Regions from separate parts of the Homo sapiens genome. Here all the other regions are linked to region 1. The links are contacts of gene promoters, found by promoter capture Hi-C in blood cells and fetal thymus (Javierre and others, 2016). All regions are on one chromosome and are shown on one strand. The core of a region is centred on a gene start or on the middle of the fragment in contact, and the rest is flanking DNA. Distances in the headings are between cores, read along the strand shown.

The links. The method cuts DNA at HindIII sites, captures the fragments that hold promoters and counts their contacts. A CHiCAGO score of 5 or more calls a contact.
Region 2: a contact is called between a fragment that was not itself captured here and the fragment with the promoter of MINAR1 in region 1, in 1 of 17 cell types (total B cells). The highest score is 5.2, in total B cells.
Region 3: a contact is called between a fragment that was not itself captured here and the fragment with the promoter of MINAR1 in region 1, in 1 of 17 cell types (endothelial precursors). The highest score is 5.4, in endothelial precursors.
Region 4: a fragment that was not itself captured here is called in contact with the fragment with the promoter of MINAR1 in region 1 in 1 of 17 cell types (endothelial precursors); the score reaches 5.7 in endothelial precursors.
Region 5: a contact is called between a fragment that was not itself captured here and the fragment with the promoter of MINAR1 in region 1, in 1 of 17 cell types (endothelial precursors). The highest score is 5.1, in endothelial precursors.

Annotation. Positions count from the first base shown.
Region 1 is chr15:79,430,284-79,435,967 of GRCh38, forward strand. MINAR1 (membrane integral NOTCH2 associated receptor 1) reads left to right here and starts at 2,053. Exons shown (of 4, transcript NM_015206.3): 1 at 2,053-2,257. The HindIII fragment of the contact is 3,334 bases long and covers 1,161-4,494 here.
Region 2 is chr15:79,802,765-79,808,527 of GRCh38, forward strand. No RefSeq gene overlaps it. Among named protein-coding and RNA genes, the nearest start is that of TRC-GCA5-1, 61 kb to the left of the region's middle. The HindIII fragment of the contact is 238 bases long and covers 3,705-3,942 here.
Region 3 is chr15:79,842,685-79,847,992 of GRCh38, forward strand. It overlaps ST20-MTHFS (ST20-MTHFS readthrough), which reads right to left. Exons shown (of 4, transcript NM_001199760.2): 4 at 863-2,758. The coding sequence ends at 2,526. It overlaps MTHFS (methenyltetrahydrofolate synthetase), which reads right to left. Exons shown (of 3, transcript NM_006441.4): 3 at 863-2,758. The coding sequence ends at 2,526. Among named protein-coding and RNA genes, the nearest start is that of MTHFS, 52 kb to the right of the region's middle. The HindIII fragment of the contact is 8,304 bases long and covers 1-5,308 here.
Region 4 is chr15:79,858,783-79,864,212 of GRCh38, forward strand. The region is part of intron 3 of ST20-MTHFS (ST20-MTHFS readthrough); the gene reads right to left. The region is part of intron 2 of MTHFS (methenyltetrahydrofolate synthetase); the gene reads right to left. Among named protein-coding and RNA genes, the nearest start is that of MTHFS, 36 kb to the right of the region's middle. The HindIII fragment of the contact is 2,633 bases long and covers 2,326-4,958 here.
Region 5 is chr15:79,823,994-79,829,968 of GRCh38, forward strand. It overlaps LOC124903536 (a long non-coding RNA gene), which reads right to left. Exons shown (of 2, transcript XR_007064730.1): 2 at 59-5,975. Among named protein-coding and RNA genes, the nearest start is that of MTHFS, 70 kb to the right of the region's middle. The HindIII fragment of the contact is 2,720 bases long and covers 956-3,675 here.

The sequences.
Region 1 (5,684 bases), core at 803-3,302:
CTATGGTTTTTCCTTCTAGAATGTGGTCTCTGTGGTAGTATTTCATGAAGAAACAGGAGAAAAAACAGGAAAGAAGAACTCAAAGCAAAAGAAAAGGCAGATCCCACGCAGCTTCCTGTCCTAATTGTTCCATGTGGATTCAACTGTTCTCGGTTTTGGGAGAAATATATACTTGTTCAGGTCTCAAATAATCTGCCCCTGAACTCAAAGGACAATGAGGCCCCCAAACAGTCTTTAGCTATTACCAAACAGGCTTCTTACCCTGGGGACCCCCTTTACTCCTTAAGCTTATGCTCCCTTTTGCCACAAACAATATTGGGACCCAAAGACAGAGCCAGCACTACTTACAAATTTAAAATCACTAGGCAAGGTACAGTGAATCAAACAAACTTCACTCCTACTTTACATTTTCAAATCCGTTTGCCCTTACTAGAATAGGTTTGAACTTGCCTCACAATAAGGTAATAAAGGCAAATGGATTTTAAAAACTTGGGCAGAGAGGAGCTCTGGGAAAATCTAGTTGTCAACACGTATCACCCTGATAGGGCGTTATTTAAAGTATCCATTTATTAGCAAGTTCACTTTTGTTTGCTTGTTTTGTTTTTAAAAAACTTTTTATTAGGTAAAATTTGAACATGCACCAAAAAATAGAATCAGATAATGAATCTTGGGACTAGCTGCAAGTTCACTTTTAAAGCGTTGTTGCCACCCACATCCAGACAGCTGAGGGAGGCTGAGACTGAGATCTGCGTCCCCCCAGGGCCTTTGCTCCGATCACAGGTAGCAAATGTCAGGGAGAAGCTGGCCAGGGAAAAGCCGCCACAGCCCCCGAGAGGGCTCTGTCCCTGGGGAGGTATGCTCCTTAGCAGCTCTGTTCGGTAACTCGGTGGCAGGGAAGGAGGTGGGGTGGTGGGGGTGGGGGTGTTGCTTTCCTTTTGAAATGAGATTCCATGGCCCCGAAACTATGATTCCCTCCCTCACCCTTTTTGTTTGTGTTGTTCTTGTCTTGGGGATGCAAAGTGCTGTTAACGTGAGCTTCCCCAGCCACAGGGACAGGATCTGTCTAGATGGGGCCACCAGAGGCAGCTGCTGTGTTTCGGCTCCACTCCAGCACACAGGGTGACACGGAAGGCCTCCATTTCTGATCCATGTATCCAGTAAGCTTTTGGAAACCCATCCCAGTTTCGTGGGGTTTGGGGGTGTGTGAATGAGTGAGTATGTGTGTGTGTGTGGGGGGGGAGAGAAACAGGGAGGGGTGGTCACGTGACAGTCTTTCCAATCTGGATCCCAATTAAGCCGACACCAGCCAAAAGAAGAAATCAGTGAGTGAAGTGACCACTTGGCCCTGGCCTTGCAAACCACTGCAGAGTCCGAAGCCCCGAGTGCTCCCTGGGAAGAGGAGAGCCGAGGACACTCTTCGCCCCTGCTTGCCACTGGGGGCCGCAGTCACCTTCAGCATAGGGGAGTGGGGAGACGCGAACCCCGCGGGTGGCTCCGGGTGGTGGGCTCCCTCCAGCGCGCAGCTTCCGCTCGCTTTCCCCTCGGCGCTGCAGCCGCGACCTGGGACCGAACGGACACCGCCTTCCCGGGGCTCCGGCGGCGCTCTGACTCCCACTTTCCTCCGCCGCAGCCTCTGGCAGGGCACCCCCTTGGCGCGACGCCGCGCCCCTCCCCGGGACCGCCCCCTCGGTCCCCCAGGGTGCGCTCAGTTGCTGCCCGTGCGCCCCGCCAGCTTGAGCGCCCCGGGCGGGCGGCGGTGGAGAAGCCCAGCCCAGCTCTCCCCAGCCGCGTTCCCGGCCCGCGCTGCTCCCAGCCTGCAAGCCCATGACGTGGCGACGCCGACCGAGACACAAAGACCGAGGCTGAGACCGCCAGGGGTTGAGGGTGAGGCCGCGTCCCGGGGCCGCTGGAGCGCGGGCGTCATGCGAGACTGTCCCGGCTGCGCGCCGCCCCAGAGGAGTCCGAGCGCCCCCTTCAGCCGCGGCGCGCTGGCCCTGGCCGGGACTGCAGCCAGGTGGGCGCCGCGCGTGTGAGCGCCGCGCGTGTGAGCGCAGACCTGGACTCGGGCGGCGGAGGCGAAAGTCGCTCCATCCGCGGGGTGCAACCCTGGGCGCGGAATCCGGGCTGCCGGGTGACAGTGACCAGCTGACTCTGGAGCCTACCGGAGGCGCGGCATCGGAGGCCGTGCGGACCACTGCCGAACAGCCGCTGGAGACCCGCAGAGAAGGGCGGGCCCTGCGCCCGGGGCGCCTCGGAGGTAAGTTCGGAGAGCCCGGGCCGGGCGGAGGGCGGGAGCGCACGAGTGTGTGTGTGTGTGTGTGTGTTCGCGGTGTGCCCGCGGCTCGGTGCACACGCGCGCGGGTTGTAAAGTCAGGAGCTGCGGGAGCGCCTCCCTGCCTCGGCTTGGCCCCGGAGCATTGCGGGCCGCGGAGGTGTGGGGGCCCTTGTCGCTGCGCTCAGGGCAGCGGCGGAAAAGGTGTGTGCGGATGCGGGGCGGGGCCGCACCTGGTGGACAGAGCAGGGATTCGGGAAGAGAAGCCACGGAAGATGATCATGCAGTTTGGGGCAAGTTTTCCTGGTTGAGCATCGCTTCAGGAAACGGTGTTTTGAGGGTTAAATATGTGAGCTATCTGTGCAAAAAGCCTGACACATCAGAGGCGCGAAGTAAGATGGAAAGCTGGACAAGCCCCAGGTGGACCGACCGGTGCATCCAATTCTTAAATTGAGATTTCCAGTCACGTTGATGTGGAATGGGATCGTTGTTCTTCCCGAGGGTTTGATAAGGATGCTCAACTTCACCTGTCAGAAAGCACGGGAGCTGGGCCTGGCCCGCGGGGAGCGTAAGCTCGCTCACACGCGGTCCAACTCAGGCAAATGCAGCATGCCCGACCTGCTCTGCCGCCATCCCTCCGAAAGCGATAATTTCCTTGGGCTACCGAATCCATCAGAGTAGTCATTTGTCCCCTCGCCGGCGGTGCGGGGAGCGTAACATTTGAGTAGCCTAACTCTCACAGCGCGCACTCCAGCATTGTTTTGCTGGAAGATTGTTACTGTGGTAAGCGGCTGGTAGCCTGTGTTAAGCAGCAGGGAAGATAAGGTTGTGTTCAGGTGCGCTTAATTCAGCGGGAATTAAGTTATGTTTGGTGAAGATCTAAGGAGAGGAAAAATCCAGAGTTTCTGCTATAAACAATGTACATCTATCTTAAAGGCTTCTCACCCATTTCTCTTGTGGATGGAGCCATGTGGTTGGGAGGTGGTAGAACCATGCCGCCATCCCTGAGGCTGTGGTTGGAGGCCTCATTGCTGGGCTCTGCAATTTTATGCTCTGTGATATTATGCATGGCATGAAGAGTTGCTAGGAGGAGTGTGGAAGCAGCTTATGTGGCCAGTTATGCATCCTTTATTCCAGCAAACGAGCTGCCACTGCTACCTCTCTCTGATGGAGAGGGACGGTAAATGGCCCTTCCTTGTCATTTCTCAGACACCAGCATTACTGGGCCCGCCCTGCAGGTGGAAGCTAGCTCACTGCTGTGGCCACAGGATGTCTTTTGAATTGACCCTCATTGAGAGCCCGGCGGCAATATTTTGGGTATTGTTGAAATAAGAGAAGTGGATTAGAGAGAGTAGGATGCCTGGAGTTGTACAATACCCTTTAATGGGTTTTCCTCTTGTGTATCAGAGGAGGGTAGAGCAGGAGACGGTGGTGAGTCTGCAGAGAGGGCAAACTTAGAGATTTTCTCAGGCTACTGGAGCCTGGAGGGAAAAACCTTAAATGTCTGATAAATAAAGTCTGATTTTTATTGTGTGTGTCTGAGAGACTTGCATAGATCAGGGAGTATGTGAAAATAAATGTCAGTTGCCAGAGAAAGAATAGATCAAACAGTTTATTTGAATTTCTGATGAGTTTGGTGAGGAAGTGTATAGCACTTAACATTTGGAAGGCAGACAAAAGGTTTTGTTGTTGGTGTTATGTTCCTTTTGAATTTTAGATACATAATGCGATTTTTTTTCTGGCCAATGCTCCAGGCAAAATTGATGTCTTTCCACTTTCTAAAACCCATCATATTTATGAACTCTCTGATACTCTGTCTGAAACAGTCGTGCTCCTGTGAGGTTGAAATATCTCTCCTGCCTCTATTCACAGCAGACGCACAGAACTGATCTGGGAATTTTCTCACTCAGGATTCCCAAAATGAGCCCTTTCTCAAATCTTGACAAACGTGCAGCAGAAGCCATTGTTGCAGTTATGGCTCTGTGCCTGCTGGGCAGGGATTTAAAGGCCAGGAGAAGGCAGGGGAAGGCCCTGCTCTCTGCTCCAGCCAGGTGGTAATATGCATTCTCAAACTAGCTAGGAAAAGGTTCTAGATTCCTCAGTGAATCTATTGCTGAATCCCACTGATTAGCTTTTCCCACTGACAGACATTCAAATCTTTGTTTTTGGAGCTTCCTCTGCAGACTTGGTGTAAATTTCAAAAAAAGAAAAGAAGGCTATGAAGCTTAAGACAGGCAGAGACAGTTGGCTTCCTACCTAGGCATGCTTCAAACTCACTATATGACCTTGGTAAATTATGTAACTTTAATGCATGCTTGTTTTCACATGTGTAAAATGAGAGAGTATCAGACTAGATCATGGATTTGTTTCCCCTCTTTTTCCCCTTCTCTCTCGAAGAGTAGAACCCTTTAAATTAAATCTTTTATAAAAGGTAAGTGGCCGGGAGCTGTGGCCCATGCCTGTAATCCCAGCACTTTAGGAGGCCGAAGCGGGTGGATCACCTGAGGTCGGGAGTTCAAGACCAGCCTGACCAACATGGAGAAACCCTGTCTTTACTAAAAATACAAAAAATTAGCCAGGCATGGCGGTGCATGCCTGTAATCCCAGCTACTCGGGAGGCTGAGGTAGGAGAATCGCTTGAACCTGGGAGGCAGAGGTTGCGGTGAGCCGAGATCATGCCATTGCACTCCAGCCTGGGCAACAAGAACAAAAATCCGTCTCAAAAAAAAAAAAAAAATACGCAAAACAGATTAAGAGCAAGGGAGGGACATAGCAGCCAGTTCACTCTCAGTGTGGTGTCTGAAGAACCCTTTGGAACCCCTACAGGCTTTTCAGAATTCAGTTTGAGAATCACTGGAAGCTTCTCTCTGCAATATGGCATATTCCCTCTCTGAATGTTTCCAATGAAATGTTGTGGTCACCTAGCTCAGTGTTATAAATAGTCATGTACCTGTAACTGATCCTCCTGGATGGCTAGCTAAACCCCTACAATGTCAGCTCTGGGAGGACCATAACTTTTTCAGCCCTGGACCTTCTGAGTCTCACACAGTGCCTGGCATGTAAGTAGGTGCTTAGTGAATGCTTATTGAATGGATTAAGAAATGAAGAGGGAGTAAAGTTATTCTGGCAGACCAAAGACTGGTGGATGATACACTATGGTGGAAATCTTAGGAGAGCAGGGACTTTGATTTATTTGTTGCTATATCTCTAGTGCCTGGCACAGACAGATTTTGGCTTATTGTAGGAAGTCCTTTAAAATAATTAAAGTTAATACTGGGAATGGATTGCCCCAAGAGGGGATAGAAGCATATATATGGTGGCTATTAATTTTGTTCTTAAAGATTCTGGCTGTCTCTGCTTCTGGGCACATGGTAAGATTGCATTTTCCTGTTAATTTGAAATCAGGTATGGC
Region 2 (5,763 bases), core at 2,574-5,073, 370 kb after region 1:
TCCCCGTGATGTGTCCGTGTGTTCTCATCGTTCAGCCCCCACTTACAAGTGAGAACATGCAGTGTTTGGTTTTCTGTTTCTGTGTTAGTTTGCTGATAACAGCTTCCAGCTCTATCCATGTCCCTGCAAAGGACATGATCTTGTTCCTTTCTGTGGCTGCACAGTATTCCATGGTGTATGTGGTATAGAGCAGGATTTCTAACCCACAAGAAGGGATTGAAAGAGGCTTTCTCTTTTCTGAGTTGAAGACCACAGGCCTCTCACATTGGGATTAATCTTTGGAGCTTGACTCCAAACTCTCAGACTCTCCATCTCTTCAACCTCTTTCCCCTCCTGCCCTGCCACACTCTACCCACTGCAATCAGAAAAGCTGAGCCCACACACAAAGAACCTGAGCTTTGGAAATACAGTTCATTAATGGCAGGTGTGTGGAAACCCACGAGGAGAAAGTGGAGGAGACACAGTCCTTGCTATCTTATGCAGCAAACTAGGATTTCTGATGCAAGACATGCAGTAAGGTAATGAGTGAATAGTCCTAAATAGCCTCGGTTTGGAGTCAGAGAAGAGCACTACATGCGTCTGACTGTACAAAGAGATTCCCATGCTCAGTTCCCTAGGCTGCTAGACGTCAATTGTCTCTGTGCAGCTGCTGAGAAGATGGAAGAGTAGGTGTCCTCTTTGGCCAACTGAGGCTGCCATGAGTGCACAGCCCATTGGAGTCATTAAGGCCATCTAAAACTAAGTGGCCATATAAAAGTCATCAAGGCCATATAAAACTATATTCCTTGTTCACAATCCCACCAGATACAGAAAGACGGGAAGAGGAGTCTAGTCCTTTCTACTTGTTCCCAAGTCCTCTTCCACCAAGGCAGGTTATCACGGAAATATTCCAGGATCTGGAATGAGACACTTGGATTTGAGTCCCAGTTCTTCCACTTAGAGACCATGTGACTTTGATTGACTTTGATTGGTCCTTTTGACTTTTTTTTTTTTTCTTTGAGACGGAGTCTCGCTCTGTCACCAGGCTGTGCAGTGGTGCGATCTCGGCTCATGGCAACCTCCACCTCCTGGGTTCAAGTGATTCTCCTGCCTCAGCCTCCCAAATAGCTGGGACTACAGGCGCTCGCCACGGCACCCGGCTAATTTTTGTGTTTTTTAGTAGAGACAGGGTTTCACCATCTTAGCTAGTCTCAGACTCCTGACCTCATAATCCACCCACCTCAGCCTCCCAAAGTGCTAGGATTATAGGCGTGAGCCACTGTGCCCGGCCTCTTTTGACTTTTCTAAGTCTTGGTCTCTCCAAGTGTAAAATGGGGGTCCCCTGAACTACCAACTTCACAAGGTCTTGCTGAGAATCAAATGAGATAATGGATGGAAAGCCCCTTTGAACCAAAATGTACCATGTATGTGGTGATTTTTCTACATTCCTCACTAGTTTGAGCTAATAAGCACATAACTGTGGCCACCAGAAAAAAAAAAAAAGTCACTGCAAGTAGCAGTTTTCTCTCCTGGTGAGGACAGTTCAGTAAAGGCAACATCTCACTGTAAGGTACAGGTAAAGCTGAACTCTAGATCTAAATATGAGCATATCTGTGGCCAACAACACCCTTTTACAGAAAGAACAAGGCCAACATTTTATTCTCCCTATTGCAAGGCTGTTGACTGTCCCAGACACCGAAGGGGAGACTGTGACATGGTGGCCATGAGCATTCATCTCACAGATCTCCAACTACAAGGAGAACAACTGACCAAGGACTCTGGCTGCCTTTGAAATATATTATCATGTTTGAGCCCAGGTAAACCTTCCCAAAGCCACTTCCAGCCACTGACTAAGCGCAGCAGGGCTACTAAGGTGAGCCCTCCAATGTCTAATTGTAGCTCTAGGACTCCGCAACAGTTTTGCCAAATTTTTCTTAGACTGCGTAGCAGTCTAGAAGGCTTCTACCTATCTTTTCTTTCCACAGTCCTTCACTCAGTACAGACATTCTTCATGCAAAGAAAGAGGCCTGTTCATAGTGCACACAGGGGGCCAACTTCATACGAATCACGTGGTGTGAATGGTATGGACTGAGGCCCCTCAACAACCACATGTTCTGTAGCTCTGTTTCTATTGCGAAAGAAGGGATCGCTCAAGAAAAGGCAATAGGGAGAATATAAGGAGGAAAAGCCTTTTTTATTTTTAAGGAATAACTATTTTTGAAAAATAGAGCTTGACAGAAACATTAGTTGAGGAGTAATCCAAAGACTGCATTGACTGTCATGGGAAGCAGGGAGGCCCCTGGTCCTGAAAGTGCTGAGTCAGAGGATTGAGGCTATTTTGCAGGGATTTCATCACATGATATGCAGGGGATGCTGAACTTGATAAATCTGTAAGGTCTGTGAATCTAGAAGTCATTCAATTAAATACAAACATGGGTCTGGATAATTCCAGTACCTTAGAGTTGAAATGATCCTGAGTTCCTGCCTCTAAATGACAAATGTATTTATATGAAAGTGACCAGTGGACATCAACTCTTACTTGCTCCTGTTCTAGACCTTGACAGAAACTCCAGGTGGCCAGCTAGACCCCAGTGCCACCCTTCCCAGGACATTAGCACCCTCGGTGGGTGTGGGATCCGACACTAGCCTCCTTGATAAGAAGCACTGCGCACTGGGCTGCCTCCAGAGCCCTTGACTGCTCACGCCCATGAGTACCACCTGTGCTTGAGGACAAGGCTGTCACTTGCTAGCAATCAGCAGAGGGTTGTCACAAAGCCAGGAGCAGGAATACACCAGGGCAGTATGGCGATCCCAGGTACACACAACCACAAAAGGCTGGTATCCCATCTCCACTGGGAACAGAGAAGATTCACTAGGTTCCTGGGGCTGTGCTTCAGGGGAAATGGTAGGTAAGGAGGAGATCCCTGCTCACAGTGAAAACTTGTGTCCATAGGAGAAGAGTAAACTTTGTCCTGGGTGGCTTGTTCTTGGCCACCTGCCATTCTAGGAAGATTCATCCACACTCCTCCAATTTCCTACCACTCTGCTCTCGGCCTGCTGTGGGTCAGCTCCAGCCTCCATCACTCCATGACTTTGTTCTCATCAAGATCACCAGTGACCTTCAGATTGCCAGAGTCCAAAGCCCACTTTTCCAGGCCTCATCATACTTGCCCTCCTGGCAGCATCCAGCAGTGTTGGCCACTCCCATCTGCCTCCTTACTGGTTTTCTCTCAAGCTTTCTTTTGTTTTTAATCCCTGCACATCACTCCTTCAACAAATATTTATTGAGCATTTACCATGGGCTAGCCACTGGCCTAGGCGCTGGGAACACGGCGGTAAGAAAAAGCAGACATGATTCCAATCCTTACGGAATCTACGCTCTAGCAGAAAAGTCATATGTTCTTCAAATGACACACACACAAATGCCGAATGGCAATCACACTCTGTGAAACAGGTAAAACACTAAAAATTCCACAGAGAATTGAGCAGGTACAAGAAGAGGAAAAAAAGAGTTAGGATTTTTAGCTTTTAAAAAAATCACTACATATACATATAGAAGGTACAATAAATTTTATGCCTGTTCATGGTAATCTATGTACTGAGATACATAGCTTTAACAACTCAAGCTCACTCACAATTCAGTCTGACTTTCACAAACTAATTTCATATTACTTTATATATAGAACAAGACAAATATACCAATTCTTTATTGAACAACTGTGCTAAGCTTTGCGTATGTTATTTAAGTAGTGCTAGGTTTTATATAAATCGCCTTTTCTAATCCTTTCAATAACCCATAAGGAAGTATAATTATCTCCATTTTACAGATGAGAAAACTGAAATTCAGAGACTTTACCAAGCTGGCACATGGCAGGCTCTGAATATAGACCCAGAACTTCCTTTTGACCAAAAAAAAAAAAAAAAATTTACAACGGAAATATCCAATCTTGCATATGCAAATGAAGCTTGTTCCATTCAAATATGTGCTCTAGAGACCACAAAATAGTCTTCCCTAGAAACAGCTTTGTGAACCTGAAGCACAATCTTCTGAATGTTCTCATTGCAGTCAAGGCTTTGTCCTCGAAGAATGGAGTTGATTTTCAACAGTCATTTGGCGCATAGGCTGGTTGCATTGGGAGGGGGAGGTCAGAGTGGGTCATAGAGCACACCTGTCCTCTCATCTGGCCAGCTACTCTCTGTCTGTGATGGAATGGGCTCTCCCCAACCCAAATACAAGTACTTCTTCTGACTCCTGAGTTCAAGGTGGCCACTCATGCTACCTCATGCTTCTGTCCAGTGTGTCTGGCTCCAAAAGTGGGTATATGATCCAAGTAAGGCAAATCAGAAAACCTCTGTTAGATTTAGCATATCAATGTTGGAAAAAAGGTCTCTCTTCTTTTCAGGTTGTATCTCAATTTCCCATTGCTGCTATGACAAATTCCAACAAACTTCATGGCTTGAAACAACTTGAATTTATTCTCTTATAGTTCCGAAGGCCAGAAATCTGAAATCAGTTTCAGCGAGCTAAATTCAAGGTGTCAGCAGGGCTGGTTCCTTCTAAAGGCTCTGGAGGAGGATCTTTTTCCTCACTTTTCTTAGCTTCTAGAGACTTCCCAAATTCTTTGGCTTGTGGCCCCTTACTCCATCTTCAAAGGGCATTACTCCAAGTTCTGCTTCATTGTTCCCTCTCCTTCTTCCACCTTCAACTTTCTTTTTTCTTTTTTTTAATTGAGACAGAGTCTTGCTCTGTCACCCAGGCTGGAGTGCAATGGCATGATCTCAGCTCACTGCAACCTCTGCCTCCCGGGTTTAAGCAATTCTTCTGTCTCTGCCTCCCAAGTAGCTGGGACTACAGGTGCACACCACCACGCCCAGATATTTTCTTTTGTATTTTAGTAGAGACAGGGTTTCATTGTGTTGCCCAGGCTGGTCTTGAACTCCTGAGCTCAGGCAATCCACCCACCTCAGCCTCCCAAAGTGCTAGGATTTCAGTTGTGAGCCATCACACACAGCCAACTTTCTTACCCACCTCTTATAAGGACCACATTGGACCCACCCAGCTGATAATCCAGGATAATATTTCCATCTCAAGATTCTTAATCACATCTGCAAAGTTTCTTTTGCCAGGTAATGGAACATAGTCACAGGTTCCAGAGATTATACATGGACATCTTTTGGAGGCCATTATTCTGGCTAACATAGACTGCAGGTTTTGGGGCTGCCAGTGACTATGACAGCCATGTTAAGAAGGCTTGTCTGTAGGGTATGGGGTGACTAGAAAGAAAAAAAAATAAGACAGAGGGAGAGAGCAAGAGAGAGAGAGATGACAGTACCTTTGAACTTCTAGATTCCAGTTGTCCCCGAGAGAACGACAGAGCGGGAATTCTGGGCTGCAACATGGAGAAACCCTGGCTAAGAGATGGAGAGAGATGTGTTTACGGCCTTTAACCCAGTTTTGCCCACAGCCAACTGCACTCTCAGATATCCAGTTGGGTTTTGTCACGAGGAATTAAAAGTGAAAAAGTACCACGCTTTAGTAAAGAGGGAAGTGTGACTACTAAGAATAGATACTGATTTTCTTTTAGTGAAAAGTAACTGACCCTAAAGCTGCTCCCCAAAGACAAGTCCTAGGGTGAGGAATAAAATAAGTACATAGGTTTGGGGAAAGGCATCTGGCATCTCCGGGTAACTGTAAGAAAACAGTACTCATTTGGAAAGCTATATATACTTGTAATGTTTCAAATAATTTAATATTTTATAGAACAGATACTCATTGTTTCTTCT
Region 3 (5,308 bases), core at 1,414-3,913, 410 kb after region 1:
TTGGGACCAGGAACTGTCTGCAGCAAGACACTCACGCCTAGTCACATTTATCAATCTCCTAGTTAGTAAGACTTTGTGATTAAGTGTATAATGCTCTTGACTAGAACTTTATATAGTTTACTTTCTAATTAAATTAAGCACAGTTCTATAGTACATACAGCAAACACAGACCTATGTTGGGGCCCTGATATATTTCCAATTTCCCAATATTTGAAATTGTTTTTGTGCAGATCTAGTTGCTATTTCTCTTCTACTCAGATTGTCCCCTCATCTGAGACGCTCATCATTCTTGCTTCATGTTAGCCTCTACTGAAGTGCTTGCCTCCTGAGTCTAAGGCCTTGTCTTCAGCCTCTGTGTATGCCCTAATCAGAGTTACAGTGTTGTAATCACCTACATCATAGGGGCATTTTCTCCCTTCCAATATCCCTGCACAAAGACTACTGTGCATTAGTGATCACTAGGGAGTGCTTCTCTTTTCAGGCCGAGATCCTGTGGCCCTCTGACTTTCCTGAATCTCAGCACCCTGCATTTTCTGGCCAGTTAACTCGGCATTCTGTCTGCACTTGAGGAGCTGGTAGAGTGGTTTTTAAATGCTCTCATTTAACAGAAGAATAACATAGACTAAGTTCAACAATGCCAAACTTTCTAGACCTGCAGCAGGTCAGGAATTTTACTGCTCTACCATTTCACACCAACAGTCATGTCAGCTACATTAACATTCACTTTAACCTTATAGTCGAAATAATACTTAACAATATTTTTAACCAGTACAATAATGTGACTTCATAGCTTCTGAGAATTCAGTTTCCTTCCCTTTCCTCATCATACATATTATATTGTACAAACCCATATTCAGCCTGATATTTTTCAAATGTTTTTACTTTTGTACATAAAACATCAAATTTATGCTACTATCCAAAGAATAATGGATGAGTATTTTGAATGAAACACTTCCAATGTATTCAATTATTTCATTAAAAAATTCTCTCTCTCACACACACACTATATGTCTAGTTGTGTACTAAGCATAAGAAGTATAAAGATCACTTCTTTTCTTTGGAGCTCACAGTATGGTGAAGGGGACAGATATGACAACAAATAATTTGATACGTAAGACAACATGATAAGCACATCAATGGCCAAGGCCACTCAGACAAGGGAAGGAACACTCACTCTGCTTGGGAAAGTAGCAGAAGACTTCACAGAAGAGGTGATGCTAGGGCTGAGTCTTCAAGGGAAAACAGTCTTCTAGATGAACAACAGAAAGAGCATTTCAGACAGAGAGAAATGCATGCTTACTATGTGCAAAGGGCAGAAGCCTGCAGTGCTCAGTCAGTGTTACAGGAGAATACAGAGTTGGGAGAGAAGAGGCTAGAAAAAGTAGATGAGGAGACCTCTCTTAAGGGGCTTTGTATACAACAGAAGCCATCTGTTTGCTACCCAAGAGGCTCTGAACAGCCACCGGAAGACCTTAGTCAGGGGTGCTGCATGATTAGATTCGTGTTTTCTAAGATCAGTTTGACTGCAGCTTGAGAAATAAACTGGAAGAGGCAAGATGGAAGCCAAGGGAAGCAGGTGTGACACTCTCGCCTAGTCCAGCTTAGAAATGCTAAAAGGCTGGACAAAAGGAGTGACAGGAAAATTGAAAGGAGAGAATAGATTTAAGAGGCATTTCAGAGGCAAAATCAACAAGACCTGGTGACAGGATGGACATGGAGTGTGAGTAAGAGAGCCACGTGACTCCCGGGTTTCTGGAGATGACCAAATCCTCCCCACAACAAAATTATTGCTCCCTAGCTGTGTTGCCATCTGCCAACTTTCAACTCACAGCAAATTTCATTTCCAAAGCAGAAACCATGAGTAAACAGAAATAATTTCTAACTTATAAGATACTAGATCTTAAACTCATCAAGGGCTGATACATGCAGTGATGGTAACCAATCAGTGGAGTAAAAGTATTTAAATCATAAAAGGTTTCCCTCCACTAACCACCAAAAGCTACAAAGTGTCCAACATAAAATTCTAGAGTGGGTAAAGGAAGTCATGATGAAGTGAGATAATATTCTTAGGGAATTCTGTATCCAAAGCAAATACCAACAAATAAATTAATAGTCCCCAAGTCTCCATGTGCCTGCCAGGACAGACCAGGTCATGAAAGGCGTAATGAAATACAGTGCCCACTCCCGCAAGTTTACCTTCCTCTCGCACTCAGTCGGAGCACAGTTCCTCATAAATATTTAACTTAAATTGCAAAGTAGACAGATCAACTTGTCACATTAACACCAGGAAGTTAAGCTGAAAATCACAGGCTGATAGCCTCCATTTTAATTAATATTCTACTATTCACACTTCTATTGGTTTTTAAAGATGGTTTTATATAAGGTATTTCATAATTACAATTTTAAAATGCAGTCTGTATTCACATTAATGAACAATTTCAACTAATTTTTGACAAGGGAAAAATACACATACTTTGCTTTACTCTCATATAAAACACTGATTATTTGGCTGTAGTAATCCAGATTTAAGCTGTTGACGAGTCTTCGTAAAGGACTTCATCTACCTTCATGTCGTTTTCATTCACTGGGACCTGGAGGCAAATCTGTTCTTTGAAAGCCAACGCCAGGGTGTAGGGCTTCACTTCCTGATGCTGCAAACAGCGCTTCAGATAGGCATCATAGTAGCCCTTGCCCCTCCCCAGTCGGTTGCCATGTTTGTCAAACCCAAGGCCTGGCATGAAGATGAGATCAAGTCCCCCTGCGGAAAAGAGGAACAAATTTAAGAGGATTAATTGTTTCTGAAAGATCATTTCAGGATGTGTTTTTTGTTTTGTAATGACATCAATTCTTTCTCTGATTTCTAAAAACAATGTGTGACCATTAATATCCAAAAAGCACAGAGTTGGACAAAAAAGGAAATAAAACGTACTCAGCAACTTAGTTAAGTCTCTTATTCATCCTCAACAGATCTTTTACATATATCTGTACAAAAGTGCCAGATTCCCAGGCCTCATTCATAACTAGTTAAATACAGAGAATCTCCAGAGATAGGGCCCTCTTTTTTCTAGCATCCTGGTGATTCTCCATACCTGTCAGGTTTGGAAATCAATACCCCAGGATAATGACAGTTGGAGGGCGGGAAACAGTCAAGGAGGAGCCATAAAGGACAAAGCTGTTTCTCAGGGTCAGTGAGCAGAAAGAGAGTCCACTGTCAGGCATACCAAGCAGTTCAGACAGCCTACTCCCTCCTCATTTCCCCTCCCATTGGAGAGGCAAGGCCAGGCTGCCGGGCTTCCCCAGACTCGTGTGAGAGCAGGCTTTGACCTACTCAAGGAAAGGTACAAGATGGGGACCCACAACTAGTTCTCTGGCTACAACCCTCTCAAGTAACACGAAGACCAGAACTGGCTATGACATTATCAGGACAGAATGCTGGAGCTCAGGGTGGGAGGCAGGGTCCTGGAGGCTATAAAAACCCAACTGCAGTAAGGGTGTGTGGGGATTCCCATGAAGATGGCAATGAAGGTCACTAGGTGAAGAACCTCCATGAGGGAATGGTACTCCAGCCTCTGGCAAGAAACATGGGGTACCAGTGTCAGCATAAGAGCCACATTACATGTCAAACCCAGTAGTCTGCCCTGTAGCCTCCTTATACTGAGTCTTGGCCTCCTGACAGCTGTCCTGGGGGTTTCTGGGTGACCTATAGCTTAGTTGTGGAATAACCATTCATATAGCATTTGCTGGCAAGATATACCAGGGTTGGAAGCCATGAATTCTCCAGAACAGCATGTTCAGAGTAGAGAGGATCAGACTGCCAACATGGCTAGCCCCCACTATCAGCAGATATTCTGACTACCTGCAGAACTGTGAGGTGAACTCAGCTTCTCTCTAGCTCCCAGCATACACCTGGTCACCCCTGCCTGCCAAAATCCAGCAAAGCATGCCTCAGATTACAGTAATGACCTTCCCCTGTAAACCTCCTTGTCTATTCCAATCCCAACTTTCTAAAAAGGTCCTGGTCACTGACCTCTGTCTTTCCTCCCTGTTCCTGTCCAGCTCATTTGTCCCTCTTGGGATTGACAGTGGACTGTGAATTTGGACTTTACTCCCTCGTGTCCTCTTTCTGTTGCCAGAGCACCATCAGGCTTGAAGTTCAGTTCTGTCTTCTATACCTAGAACACACAATGCGCAAACCTTTCTAAGGATTCCTGCCTCTTTACAGTATGGCAAGGTGCTCTGTAAGGTCCTCTGGAGGACACACAGTCTCTTCCCTTCATGAAATGGCAGTTCAGTTAGTACAAAATATAACCGCATGTAATTTCCATTCCAATGCACGGCAGCAGTCTCTGCCAAATGCCCCAAAAGCAACAGGGACAAATACTAGAGACCCCAGCAGGGGGAGAGCAAACGCTGGGTGGTCAGGGAAGAATTCATGGAAAACTCAACTTGACCTGGATTTTTAAGATGTGTCAGAGTTGGGTCTAAGTATCTTTCAGAAACCAAAAGAAAGGTGGCAAGAGCTGAGTGAGGGAGTAGGGAGTGGGGAGCAGTTTACTCGCTTGGACAGAAGGATCAACCTGAGGAGTAGCAGAAGACATGAGTGTAGAGTTCACCAGGTACAGGCATGGAGATTTGGGGTCAAAGGCACAGAGACCCCCTAGAACACAACAGCAAAAAACCAAATAACCCAATTAAAAACTGGGCAAAAGACTTAAACAGGATGGGCACGGTGGCTCATGCTTGCAATCCCAGCACTTTGGGAGGCAGAGGCGGGCGGATCATGAGGTCAGAAGACAGAGATCATCCTGGCTAACATGGTGAAATCCCGTCTCTACTAAAAATACAAAATATTAGCCAGGCATGGTGGAGGGCGCCTGTAGTCCCAGCTACTCGGGAGGCTGAGACAGGAGAATGGTGTGAACCCGGGAGGTGGAGCTATTGCGCCACTGCACTCCAGCCTGGGCGACAGAGTGAGACTCCGTCTCAAAAAAAAAAAAAAAAAAAAAGACTTAAACAGACATTTGTCCAAAGAAGACATACAAATGGCCAACAGGCATATGAAAATATACTCAACATCACTGATCATCAGGGAAATACAAATCAAAACTTCAATGAAATACCACCCCACATTCATGAGGATGTCCAATATCCAAAAAATAGAAAACCACAAATGTTGGCAAGGATGTGGAGAAATCAGAACCCTTGTACACTGCTGGTGGGGGTGTAAAATAATGCAGCCATTAAAGAAAAGAGTATATGGGTTCCTCAACAAATTAAAAGTAGAACTACCATATGGCCCAGCAATCCC
Region 4 (5,430 bases), core at 2,392-4,891, 430 kb after region 1:
CTTATGAAATTATATCTTCTAATATTTTATTTTATCAAACTTAAGAAAATTGTGAAGAAAATAACTTTAAAATTACTTCAGAAACGTCTGTTTCCATTTGGAAATTTGGGCCTATGCTCCTACGCTTTCCTATATGACAAAAATAACCAGCTTAACAACACAATGGACAAATTTCTATTTGTAAGAACAACAAATATAAACTGATCCGGAATACACTTAACAATATACTTAACAGGACCAGTGCAGTAACAACATGACTAGAAGCAAAAGCATTTACAAAGGAACACAGCAAAGTCCTGGAATAAATGGGGAGGCACACCATATTCCTGAAGAAGACTGAATATTGCACAGAAATCCATTTCCCCCAAATTAATCTACAAATTCAACACAATTCCAATCAAGCTCTCAAGGGGATTTTGGAAAAGAAACTAACAAAATTCTTTTACAGTTAATCTTAAAAAATAAATTTAGAATAGTCAGCTAAATTTTTCAAAGTAGAATAATGGGGCAGGACTCATCCCACCAGGTATTAAAATCCATTGAACAGCCATTATACATCTATATTCATCAAAATACTATGGCACTAGTGCCAAAATAGGCAGATTCCACAGATAGTTTGGAAAAGACAAAAACATCCAGATACACACCCAAACATATATAAGAATTTTGTTCATGAAAAGGTAGGGAAAGGGTAGATTACTCATTAAATGTGTTCGGACACCTGGCTAACATTTCTTTATAAAACATATTCTCAGCCAGGGGCAATGGCTCATGCCTGTAACCCCAGCACTTTGGGAGGCCGAGGCGGGCAGATCACCTGAGGTCAGAAGTTCGAGACCAGCTTGGCCAACATGGTGAAGGCCCGTCTCTTCTAAAAATACAAAAATTAGCCAGGCATAATGGCGGGAGCCTGTAATCCCAGCTACTCGGGAGATTGAGGCAGAAGAATTGCTTGAACCCAGGAGGCAGAGGTTGCAGTGAGCCAAGATTGTGCCACTGCACTCCAGGCTGGAAGACAGAGAGAGAATACATGTCAAAAAAAAAAAAAAAAAAAAACCCTTATTTTCTCTCCCTGTATACATAGGGATTCAAATAAAAATTCAAAAAGGATTAAGACTTTAATATTTAAAAACACAAAATACTAAGATAAAATGATGATGATTTATATAAACTCAAGTGAAGTAAGAACTCCTAAAAATAAAGCCAAAGGCAAAAATCCTAAAAGAAAACATTAATAAACTTTACTAATAACATTTTAAAACATCTGTATCCTCGCCCTCAAAATACAAAAAGTTAAGAAAAAGGTTTAAAAATGAATACAAATTGGCCAGGCGTGGTGGCTCACGCCTGTAATCCTAGCACTTTGGGAGGCCGAGGTGGGCAAATCACGAGGTCAGGAGATGGAGACCATCCTGGCTAACATGGTGAAACCCTGCCTCTACCAAAAATACAAAAAATTAGCCGGGTGTGGTGTCGGGTGCCTGTTGTCTCAGCTACTCGGGAGGCTGAGGCAGGAGAATGGCGTGAACCCAGGAGGCAGAGCTTGCAGTGAACAGAGATCGCACCACTGCACTCCAGCCTGGGCAACAGAGCGAGACTCCATCTCAAAAAAAAAAAAATGGATACAAATTATTTGCAGCATACATGACAGACTAATGGTTAATCTTTTAATATATAAAGAATTGTTACCAACCTGGAAAAAAATAAATGAATACCAAGAGAAAGATAAATTCCCGGAAAGAAATGGGGCAAAGAACAGCACTTTACAAAAGATGAATTAGAAAGGTTAAAAAACATTTTAGAAAGCTTAGTATATATTTTGAAATTTTCATAAGTAGTGTATTTTAACCATTATAACTTTTCAAAGAAGCAAGGAGAAATTAAAATTTAAGGATTTTTTTTTTGATTAGTACTTCAAAACAAAACCAGAAATACTGATAAGACAAAATTAAGTTACTTCCAAGGTTGAAAATTCACACAGATGCCCACAATGAATTTCTTCTGAGAATAACTTTTTCAATATATTAATGAGGTTTCCGGTTACAGTGTACTTTCTTGAGAGACTTATTAAAAGGGGTATGTTTCCTTCTGATACAACCTCATGGCAAACCACTATTCAAAGTTAAAGACTTAATTACAACTTCCCTTCTGAAGCCTTCTCATGCACTTTAGGCAAAGAGAAATCTCCATCTTGTGTTCCCAGAGCACTCTGGGCACATCCCAATGGGATCCTTAGCACCAGGACTGAAATCACTAGTTCATGTGGAATAGTCATCGTCGTCATCATCATCATCAAGCACTTATATGCACTGGCATTGTACTAAAAGCTTTATGTAAATTTCCTATTTAATCTTCAAAACAATCTAGTGAAGCAGATATTATTACCCTCATTTTCAAATGATCAGAGGCTTAGGTGAAGGGGTTTACTCATGTCCACTCAGCTAGTATGCAGCAGTCAGTAACTAGACTCAACTCCACCTAAGACCAAAACCTTGATCCTAACCACTCCTTATCCATCGTCCCCCTCCATACACCTGTCTTCCCCAACAAAATGTGAACTCCTATGGCCAGACACCACTGCCCCTTATTTATCTTTTTGTTTCCAGGGCATCACATGGAGGCTACCACACAACTGGTAGTCATTAATGCACGTTCATTTGTTATTTCGGCCATTCACTCACTCAGGGAGAGGTCAACATACTCTCATGTGTTGGTGATGAGTACGTAAAGTGGCATAACCTTTTTTAGTAAGCAATACAGAAACACCTATAAAAATTTAGAATTCATAGCCATTTCATGGATAGATGTTGATCCCATGGACTTACTTGCATAACTATGCAGAAAAATATCTATCAGGATGTTCTTTTTTATTTTTATTTGTAATACCTAAAAAACAGAAGCAACCCAAATAGCTATCAACAGAAGACTGGTTAAATAACTTAGAGCACATCAATGCTATGTAACCACTTAAAACACTATGCTAAATCTATATGTGTTGCTATGAAAAGAGTTCTATGGTTTATCAACAAGTGAAAAAGTAGGATGCAAAACAAAATGTGAACTCCGATCCTATCTGTATAAATTTTTTAAAAGGATACAAATATATATATCTAGAAGGATACACAAGTATGTTAACAGTGGTCACATCTGGGGAACAGGCTGGGAAGAAGAGGGGTGGGACTTTTTCTTTCATACCCTTCTAAACCATTTAAATTATTTACCATGTGATTAGTTAGATGGCATGTAATTACTTTTATGAATGAATGAATTGTTGCTCTACTGTTTGGCTTTTTTTTTTCCTTTTTGTTGTTTCTAACACCAACATAGACTAAGATGAAGTACAGTTAACTTGGGTTGGCCAAGACGGCTAACTGAATCAATCCTCTCATATCCCTGTTTTTCATTCAAAGACTATGTCCTTATCTCAAATATTTGGCAGCTTGCACATAAATATGCCTCCTTCCCACCCCCAAAAAACTAACTAACACACCCTATAAGTAACATCAACCTTTCCCTCAAATTTTATTTGTTAAACCTTCAAAGGGTACATGAGAGAGGCAAGTCTTACCTGGGGTCAGCCAATTAAATCTGCTTTTTATCTACGGTTTATCACTAACTGAACATACAGCTCAAAGTACAAAGTTAATTACTACTTTTGCAAGGAGAAACTGAAAATGCTGATGGGTGAGCAGCAGGACAATTCTTGTATTTCTAATGTCTTACTCTCATTGATCATATCAGCCCTCACAGAAGACTATCTTGCCTAAAGTTACCATTCCTCATTCCAGCATCCCTTTATCATTTTATCCTGTCCTTTCTACAGCAAAAAGAGGTATTAAAAAAACTATCTTTACCTGCAGTCTCTTAATTCTAGCAAATTAATATCCATTTCTATATATATGAAGATTCTGCTGTTTTCTCCTTTTAGCTAACCCCTTCCAAATTTATATTTATAGTTTCTCTCTACTTTTATAAATTATACTAGGCTACAAAATAGTTTCAAAAACATTTCACCTAGAAAACCTCATCTAGAAAGGCAAATTGATCTTGGTCCATCTACATTTGCCATGGCCTCATCACCTAGCCACTAAGATCCCTGTTTGTAATATCAGGGCACACCCCAAGACCATACTCTGGCAAGTCCTGAATCAATATCTCCTATGTCCTGACCTCCAGAGCTATATATCCAACTAGCCATCTACCAGCATTTCTGGGAGGTCCTGGAGCCACCTCAAACGGGATTCACTATGTGTCCCCCAACCCCCTACATCTCCTCTCTCTTCTGCATTCTTTGCCTAGGTTAAGAGCATGACATGCAGATGGCAAAGCCAGACTGTCCCTCAACAGCCTCAAGTGGCCTGGAGACTCTACATGCTGCATATGTCAGAACTTGTTCTATCCTCTCCATTTCTAAAAGTGGTCATCATTTCTCATCCATTCGAATCCATCAGATTCCCAAGGGATGGTCCACTCCCAGTTTCTTTGGCTGTCCCTTGGGACAGCCTGTCCTCCTTATTTCTGGCAGAACAACCTTTCCCAAACATAGAACTAGTCATGTTACTCCTATGATTAAAGTCTTTCAATAACTAACTCCCAGCACCTACAAAATAAAGTTCAAATCCCAGATGTGTGACATACAATACCCTTCACAACGTGGGCCTCCAGCCTCAGCTCAGGCCATGACACCAACTGAAATCACAACCTGCCTTGAGCTGAATGCAGCAGAGGCTGCTGGTTGCCCATCTGGACATCATTCTCTCTTTCTCCTTAGTAGCAGAAAACTTTACTCAGGAGGCCATGAATCCCACCGCAACACCACATTTCTCACCTTCCCTGGTAGTTATGTATGACCTTGTGCCTAAGTTCTGACAAATGGGACTTTCAAGGTGAAGGATGCTCTTTTTCTCCCAACACCCTCTCTTTCCTCCTGCTGACTACAATTCAGAGTTGATAGCCGAAGCTTGAGATACCAGGCAGGACCATATGGCATATGCGGCAGGATCTGTCCCTAATGACTGTGGGGCCTGTACAACAGCCACAGACTATAAATACAACTCCCAGACTTCTTTTCCAAGCATCTCACTGATATTTTGAAGTTTTCACTGATACTTTGGAGTTTTCTGCTACATGCAGCCGAATCTGATTCTAACTGATAACCTGAGCATGCCCTCCTTTTACTCGCCTCCACAGCACATGACGGCAGTAAGGAAAGGCACCGTGTGCCATCCCACAAACAGCATGCCTTCGGGGAAAGCAGACCTGGCAGGAAGACCTGGCTCTGCCTTTTGACTGTGGCATGCCCATAAATAATGCTCTGAGACTTACTTTCTGCAACTGTGAAAATGAGATAATAACATAGTCATGATGAGTAATAAGCTTACATATGTAAGAGCACTTAGCATAAGGCTTAGCACTTAGTAGACAAAGGGT
Region 5 (5,975 bases), core at 1,066-3,565, 390 kb after region 1:
TCATTTGTTCTTTAATGTTCCACTGATCTTTTGGAAATGAAGGAACTTCACATAAAACATGTAGTTTGATGAACTTTAATCTTACCCATAATTGGATAACAAAATTGGGTACGTGGAGTAATTAAAAGGATTGTGATAAAAGAGTCGATCTGCAGTTTCACATTGAGCTTCTTCCATAAACCAAGGAGTTCAGTTCAGGGCATATTAGGAAACAAAAAACAGCCCCGTGGGCTAGAAAGCTACATTTTTATTGTTGTTGTTAGAGGGAAAGGTATTTACGGAGAAGATAGACCATGTCAGTGAGGGCTAATATTATCACCTAGGGAGCTCTGAGATAAGGACATCAGTTTTAAAGATTAGGCTTCGACCTGCTAGTGAGCAGGAAGTTAACTGCTCGATTTTTCCTTAAGTGAGGTCATTTTTCCAGACTATCTTTAGATTGGTCCATCTATTACACATTTTCCATTGTTGTCGGTTTTACAGAAATGCAGACTTGCAATTTGCACGTAAGCCTGCACGTGCCTAATCCTTGTTTCTGGGCTCTCCAGTAGTGCCTGTCATGCCTGCTCACAACCTTAAAAACGTCTCTCCTTTGCCCAGCTAAGCCCTGCTGGGCTGGCTCCCCACTCTTTTCTTGAGGCCTCCAAGTCCTGGTATCTGACCTCCAGGACCCTGAGCTGAACCTCCAGCAAAGCTACCACTCCTAGAGCATCCCCTCAACCTGGAGCAGTTCTCTCAATCACTGTTTTCTGGCTTTTTCAACACTTCTCCTAGGCCTGTTCCGGTCCCGCCTTGACCTGCTCCCAACCTCCCCATCCTCAACTACTAACTGACCCCAGACCCAACCTTGTGGATCATCTGCCCTCCAGACCAGCTGTAACTCAGCCACTGCACCAGGTCATTAGCCAGGCTACTCTAGTTCCTTCAAATGCTTGCCTTCCAATAACCCTTAAGAAGCTTTTCTTTGTATCACAGTACATGAAAATAAGGTTAGTTTCTCCATTGGAGAGGAGCCAGCAGGGGTGAGAAAGGGTTCCAGAGACGAGGGTCAGAACTGCACTCTAGTCCTACCACTGGTAGCTGGAAAAAGAACCTAATTTGGAGATACCGAATTATCAAGTGATAGTAAAATAGCCAACAGCCCACAAAGTGCTGATCTACAAGGCACAGATGTGAGATCAAAGTAAAACAATGGTTAGCAAAGGGACTGGTAAAGCACTGAACAGACATGAATGCTGCTACGCGTGGCCAGATCTGCTTTATAGATGAGGAAACTGCCCATCAAAAGAGCCAAGGTGACCCGTCCAAAGCCTCACAGAGAACAAGAGGCAAATTCAGGACTAGAATGCAGGCCAGTCTTCCTACATGCTAGGAATCAGTATTTTTGTTTTCTTCTTCTCTTTTTTAATAATCATATTACTTAGATTTTTGTGTATGATAAAACACACAAGACAGACATGGTAACATTTTGCATCCATTGATCTTTTTTCTATGCTGGTTCCTCCCCACCAAAATACAATTATTGTGATACACTGCTTTTATTTTATTTTTTTAAAAAAGAGCTTGGACATTCTTCCTCTTTAAATATTTGTGTATGATGTTTTTAATGACAACAGAGTGTACAACTGGCATGAATGTAGCAACCCCTTATTATTGTATGGTTGTATTTCACTGGGTAGCAGCAGTCATCACTATTACAATAAAACAGCCTCATGCTGAATATACTTGTATAGAACTTTTGCAAATCGCATACATTATTTCACTGGGATGAATTCCTGAAAGTAGAATGACAGGGTCAAAAGTCATAGAAAATTATAAGATTTTTGTTATATTCTGCCAACTTTCTCTCCAGAAAGACTAAAAAACATACACTCTCCCAGCAGTATGAGTGTCCATTTCCCTGCATCATAGCCCAAACTTAACTGGTTTGATTATTTTTTACTACTCACATGGTTTCAGCTTGCATTTCTTTGATGAAATGTGAAATTAAATAGTTCTTATATTTGTGGCTATCTGTGTCTCCTCTTGTGTGAATTACCTGTTTATGTCCTTTGCCCCTTTACCACTGGGCACACTTCATTGTTTTCCTACTGATTTGAGTAGCACTTACTGGGTAGCCACGGACTAGGACAACCATAGACCTCCAAAGTGGGAAGCATCCTCACATGAGCCAGAGAGAACCACAGGAACTGGTCTTGCTAGATAGCCCTGAGAAAAGGAATTGGACCATTTTGCCCTCCTGCATGAGCTCCACTTCTGCTGACAGCTGGTCCTGGAGAAGGCTGAAGCAGTTGAGGGAGGGTCCACAACAGGACACTACTGCCTCTGTTCTGATTCTGGAACGGGGGAAAGAAGATTGGGGTGGAGGTGAGGAGAAGAGAAGGGAAGGACAAGAGAAGAAAAGGAGAAAAGGAGGTGGGTGAGAGACGAAGGGGAGGGAGTTGGTGCAGGACAGTGGGGAATCCACTGGAGAGGAGCCAGCAGGGGTGAGAAAGGGTTCCAGAGACCAGGGTCAGAACTGCACTCTAGTCCTACCACTGGCAGCTGGAAAAGAACCTAATTTGGAGATACCCTCAAGCAGGCAAAGGAAACTTACATTAGTGGAGGGAGGAAGGGAAGGGGCAAGTGACTACTACAATTCCCAAGCCAAGTACCCTGGGCTTATACCTGATTCCCAGAATCCAAGTCCCTTTCCACAATATCCCTCTGCCTTCTGCATGAAAGCCATCGCAAATTAATGTACCTCTAAGAGGCAAATAACTTCCTCTTAGATTGAACTGCTAGCAAAAGACCAGTCATTTGTCATCTCTGATTAAAATGTCCATGGAAAAAATTAGAAATAATTCAGCAAAGAGAGCTACCACTCTCTCTTTGGAGAGAGTTACAGAATGCAAACTAAAGTCGAAGGTGGTGGTAAAGGCAGCATGCTGCCCCTCTGCATATCAGAATAACCAGGCTCCTTCCTGCCACTATATATACAGGGTTCATTGGGTGGGTGGGGTCACTAGGGTCACCAGAATATGCAACCAGAGCAAGAAGGACTCTAAAGAGCCACTTATTCAGTGCTTCTCAAGTGTGCCTTTGTCAGAAGCACTTGCTAGCACAACAAATCAGTCTTTTTTTTCTGGAAATTCTGGTTCAGTACATCTAGGATAGGACCAGAAAAATCAACATTTTTAAACAACAGACTAAGGTGGTTCTTATGATGTGGCAAGGAGTTGATTTTGTCCAGTGCATCTTACATTCAAATCACCCAAAGAGATTAAAAACCACTATCAGGGAGTTCCATTTCTGCCTTTGATAGGCTAATATATTCAGATCAACTCTACTACCAAGAACAAATAGAAATGCCCTGTTTGAACGCATCAGAGAGCTATCAAATGTGGTGAGGTCTTACGGCACCAAGATCTCAGAGAGAAAGAAAGCACAGAACTGAACCTGATATTTGGCACAGCTTTTTGCCTCAAAGCATTTGTTGATTCTTAAGAAAAACTTAAAAGCTGAGAAGTTGTGCTTTGTAGAAACTGATCAGTGAAGAAGCCAAGAGGAGAAATGAAGTAGAAACTGGCAGCCAGGAGTCTACAAAGCTAAGCAGAGCTTTGCTGCCCCACCATCCTGGGGAAACAAAAATAGTGCAGCCATCACCAAAAAGGAGCGGCCCTGGTATGCAACCCAAGCTTTCAGAAGGAACTCCTGAAGCCTGGGAATAAGGACTAACCCAAATAAGCCAGTATTCACAAAAACTAAAGACTGGCTTCAAATCTGCTCAATCCCAGACTGGATTATAACAATCTGCCCCTATCTTGACTTCCAAAAGCAGAAAGAAGTAAATGCTCTAAGGGGAAAATAGCATCATCCAGAGGCTCAAATTCTCTCTTCAGTTTTTCATACACAATGCCTGACATTCAATAAAAAGTTACAAAAACAAGACCAGGTGTGGTGGCGCTCATGTCTGTAATACCAGCAGTTTGGGAGGCGAGGCGGGCAGATCACGAGGCCAGGAGATCAAGACCATCCTGGATAACGTGGTGAAACCCCGTCTCTACTAAAAATACAAAAAAAAAAAAAATTAGCCAGGAGTGGTGGCATGTGCCTGTAGGCCCAGATACTTGGGAGGCTGAGGCAGGAAAATCGCTTGAATGCAGGAGGTGGAGGTTGCAGTGAGCCAAGAGATCACGCCACTGCACTCCAGCCTGGGCAACAGAGTGAGACTCCATCTCAAAAAAAAAAAACAAACTTTTTTTAAATAAATGAATTATGAAGCATATTGGGAGATGTGCAAGGCCAGAAACCAAGAGAAAAAATAGACATAGAAAGAAAAAGCTCTAAGGAGACTCTGATGTTGGAATGATCACACAAAGACTTTCAAAATAACTGATTAATATGTCCAAGAAATTAATTTTAGCAAAGAGTTAAAATCTATTTTAAAAAATCAAATGAAAATTCTAGAACTGAAAAATACAATAATTAAAACTAAGAACTAAATAGATGGGTTTAATAGCAAACTAGACACAGCTGATAAAAAGATTAGTGAATTCAGAGATAGGTCAATAGAAAATATCCACACTGAAAGAATGAGAGGAAAAAATGAATGGAAAATACAGGTGGTAGTAGAGGGGCATGTATGGGACATAATGGGACATGGCAAGCAGGTCCAACATACATGTACTTGGAGTCCTGGAGAGGAAAACAACAAATGGGTCAGAAACAATTTTTACAGACATGATGACTGAGAATTTTCCAACACTGACAAAAGGTATCAAATCACAGATTCTAGAAGTGTTATGAACCCTAGAGGAGTTCAAAGAAAACCACATTTAGGCACATGTAGTAAAACTGCTAAAAAACAAAAACAAATGGGAAAATCTTAAAAACAACCAAAGTTAAAAAGTAAATCAATTTTTAATTTATTAATCCATTATTTACTTTCATTATGTATTAATGGTCAATTATATCAGAATCTCTGAGAGTTAGGCCAGGGCATGGGGCAAGTGGAGAGGGCTTTTTACAAATATACATTCTAGAGCACCATTAGAGATTGTGATTGAGCCAACTTGGGGCAAGGCCCATGAATCAACATTTTCAGCCATCAACAATGGAGTTGATTCTGATGTAGAAGTTCACAAACTACACTTCCTCAAACGTAGCTCTGTCCTTATCCCTTTATAACTAAGGAAACAGAGGCCCATCCAGGTAAGACTGAGGTCAGCTCAAGGTTATACTGTGAATCAATGGCAGGGCCACAGATAGCACATTGTACAGTCACATGGCAATTCCAAGAAGCAACTCTTCTAACCTGGTACCTACAGGCATCCTAGTCCACAGCAAGGAAGGCAGGGGTCCCAAGTGCCTGTAAGGATTCTTAGCCACAGGAAAGATATCAGGAAGGGATTGAAAATACTTGCTCACCTCTACAGGACAGGCATGTGTGAGGCACTTTTACAAATTCCTTTTGATTCCAAAAGTGGGCCCAACTCTATACCATTTATCCAACTTACTATACTGTATTAAATGCTTGATCCATTATCTCTTTTAACCTTTACCACAAACCTATGAGGTAGATATTATTATCATTCCTCATTTTATAGAGGCACAGAGAAGTTAAGTGACATATACAGGGTCACACAGATAAGTGGGGGAGTCAGGAAATGAACCTATTTAGAGTATACATTACTCCTCCGTTCTACTGCCCAAACCTGACTCCCCTATCCCCACCCACCCACCAATTCTCACACACTTACCCTGCAGGTCAAAGGGTGGCTTCTTTAACATCTCCGGCTCTAGACTGTTTTTGGTGATGGGATAAGCCCAATGGAGCAAAAGGAGAACAGGAACTGGAACTGGACCCCTAGGTAATCACCCTAGCACCGCCACTCCACTCTGTGGATTCACCAAAGTTCCTTCCCTCCTGTGGAGGTCAATTTCTTCATTTGGAAAAGAGGGTTTTCATACCTATCTCATGATTGTGGTGAGAT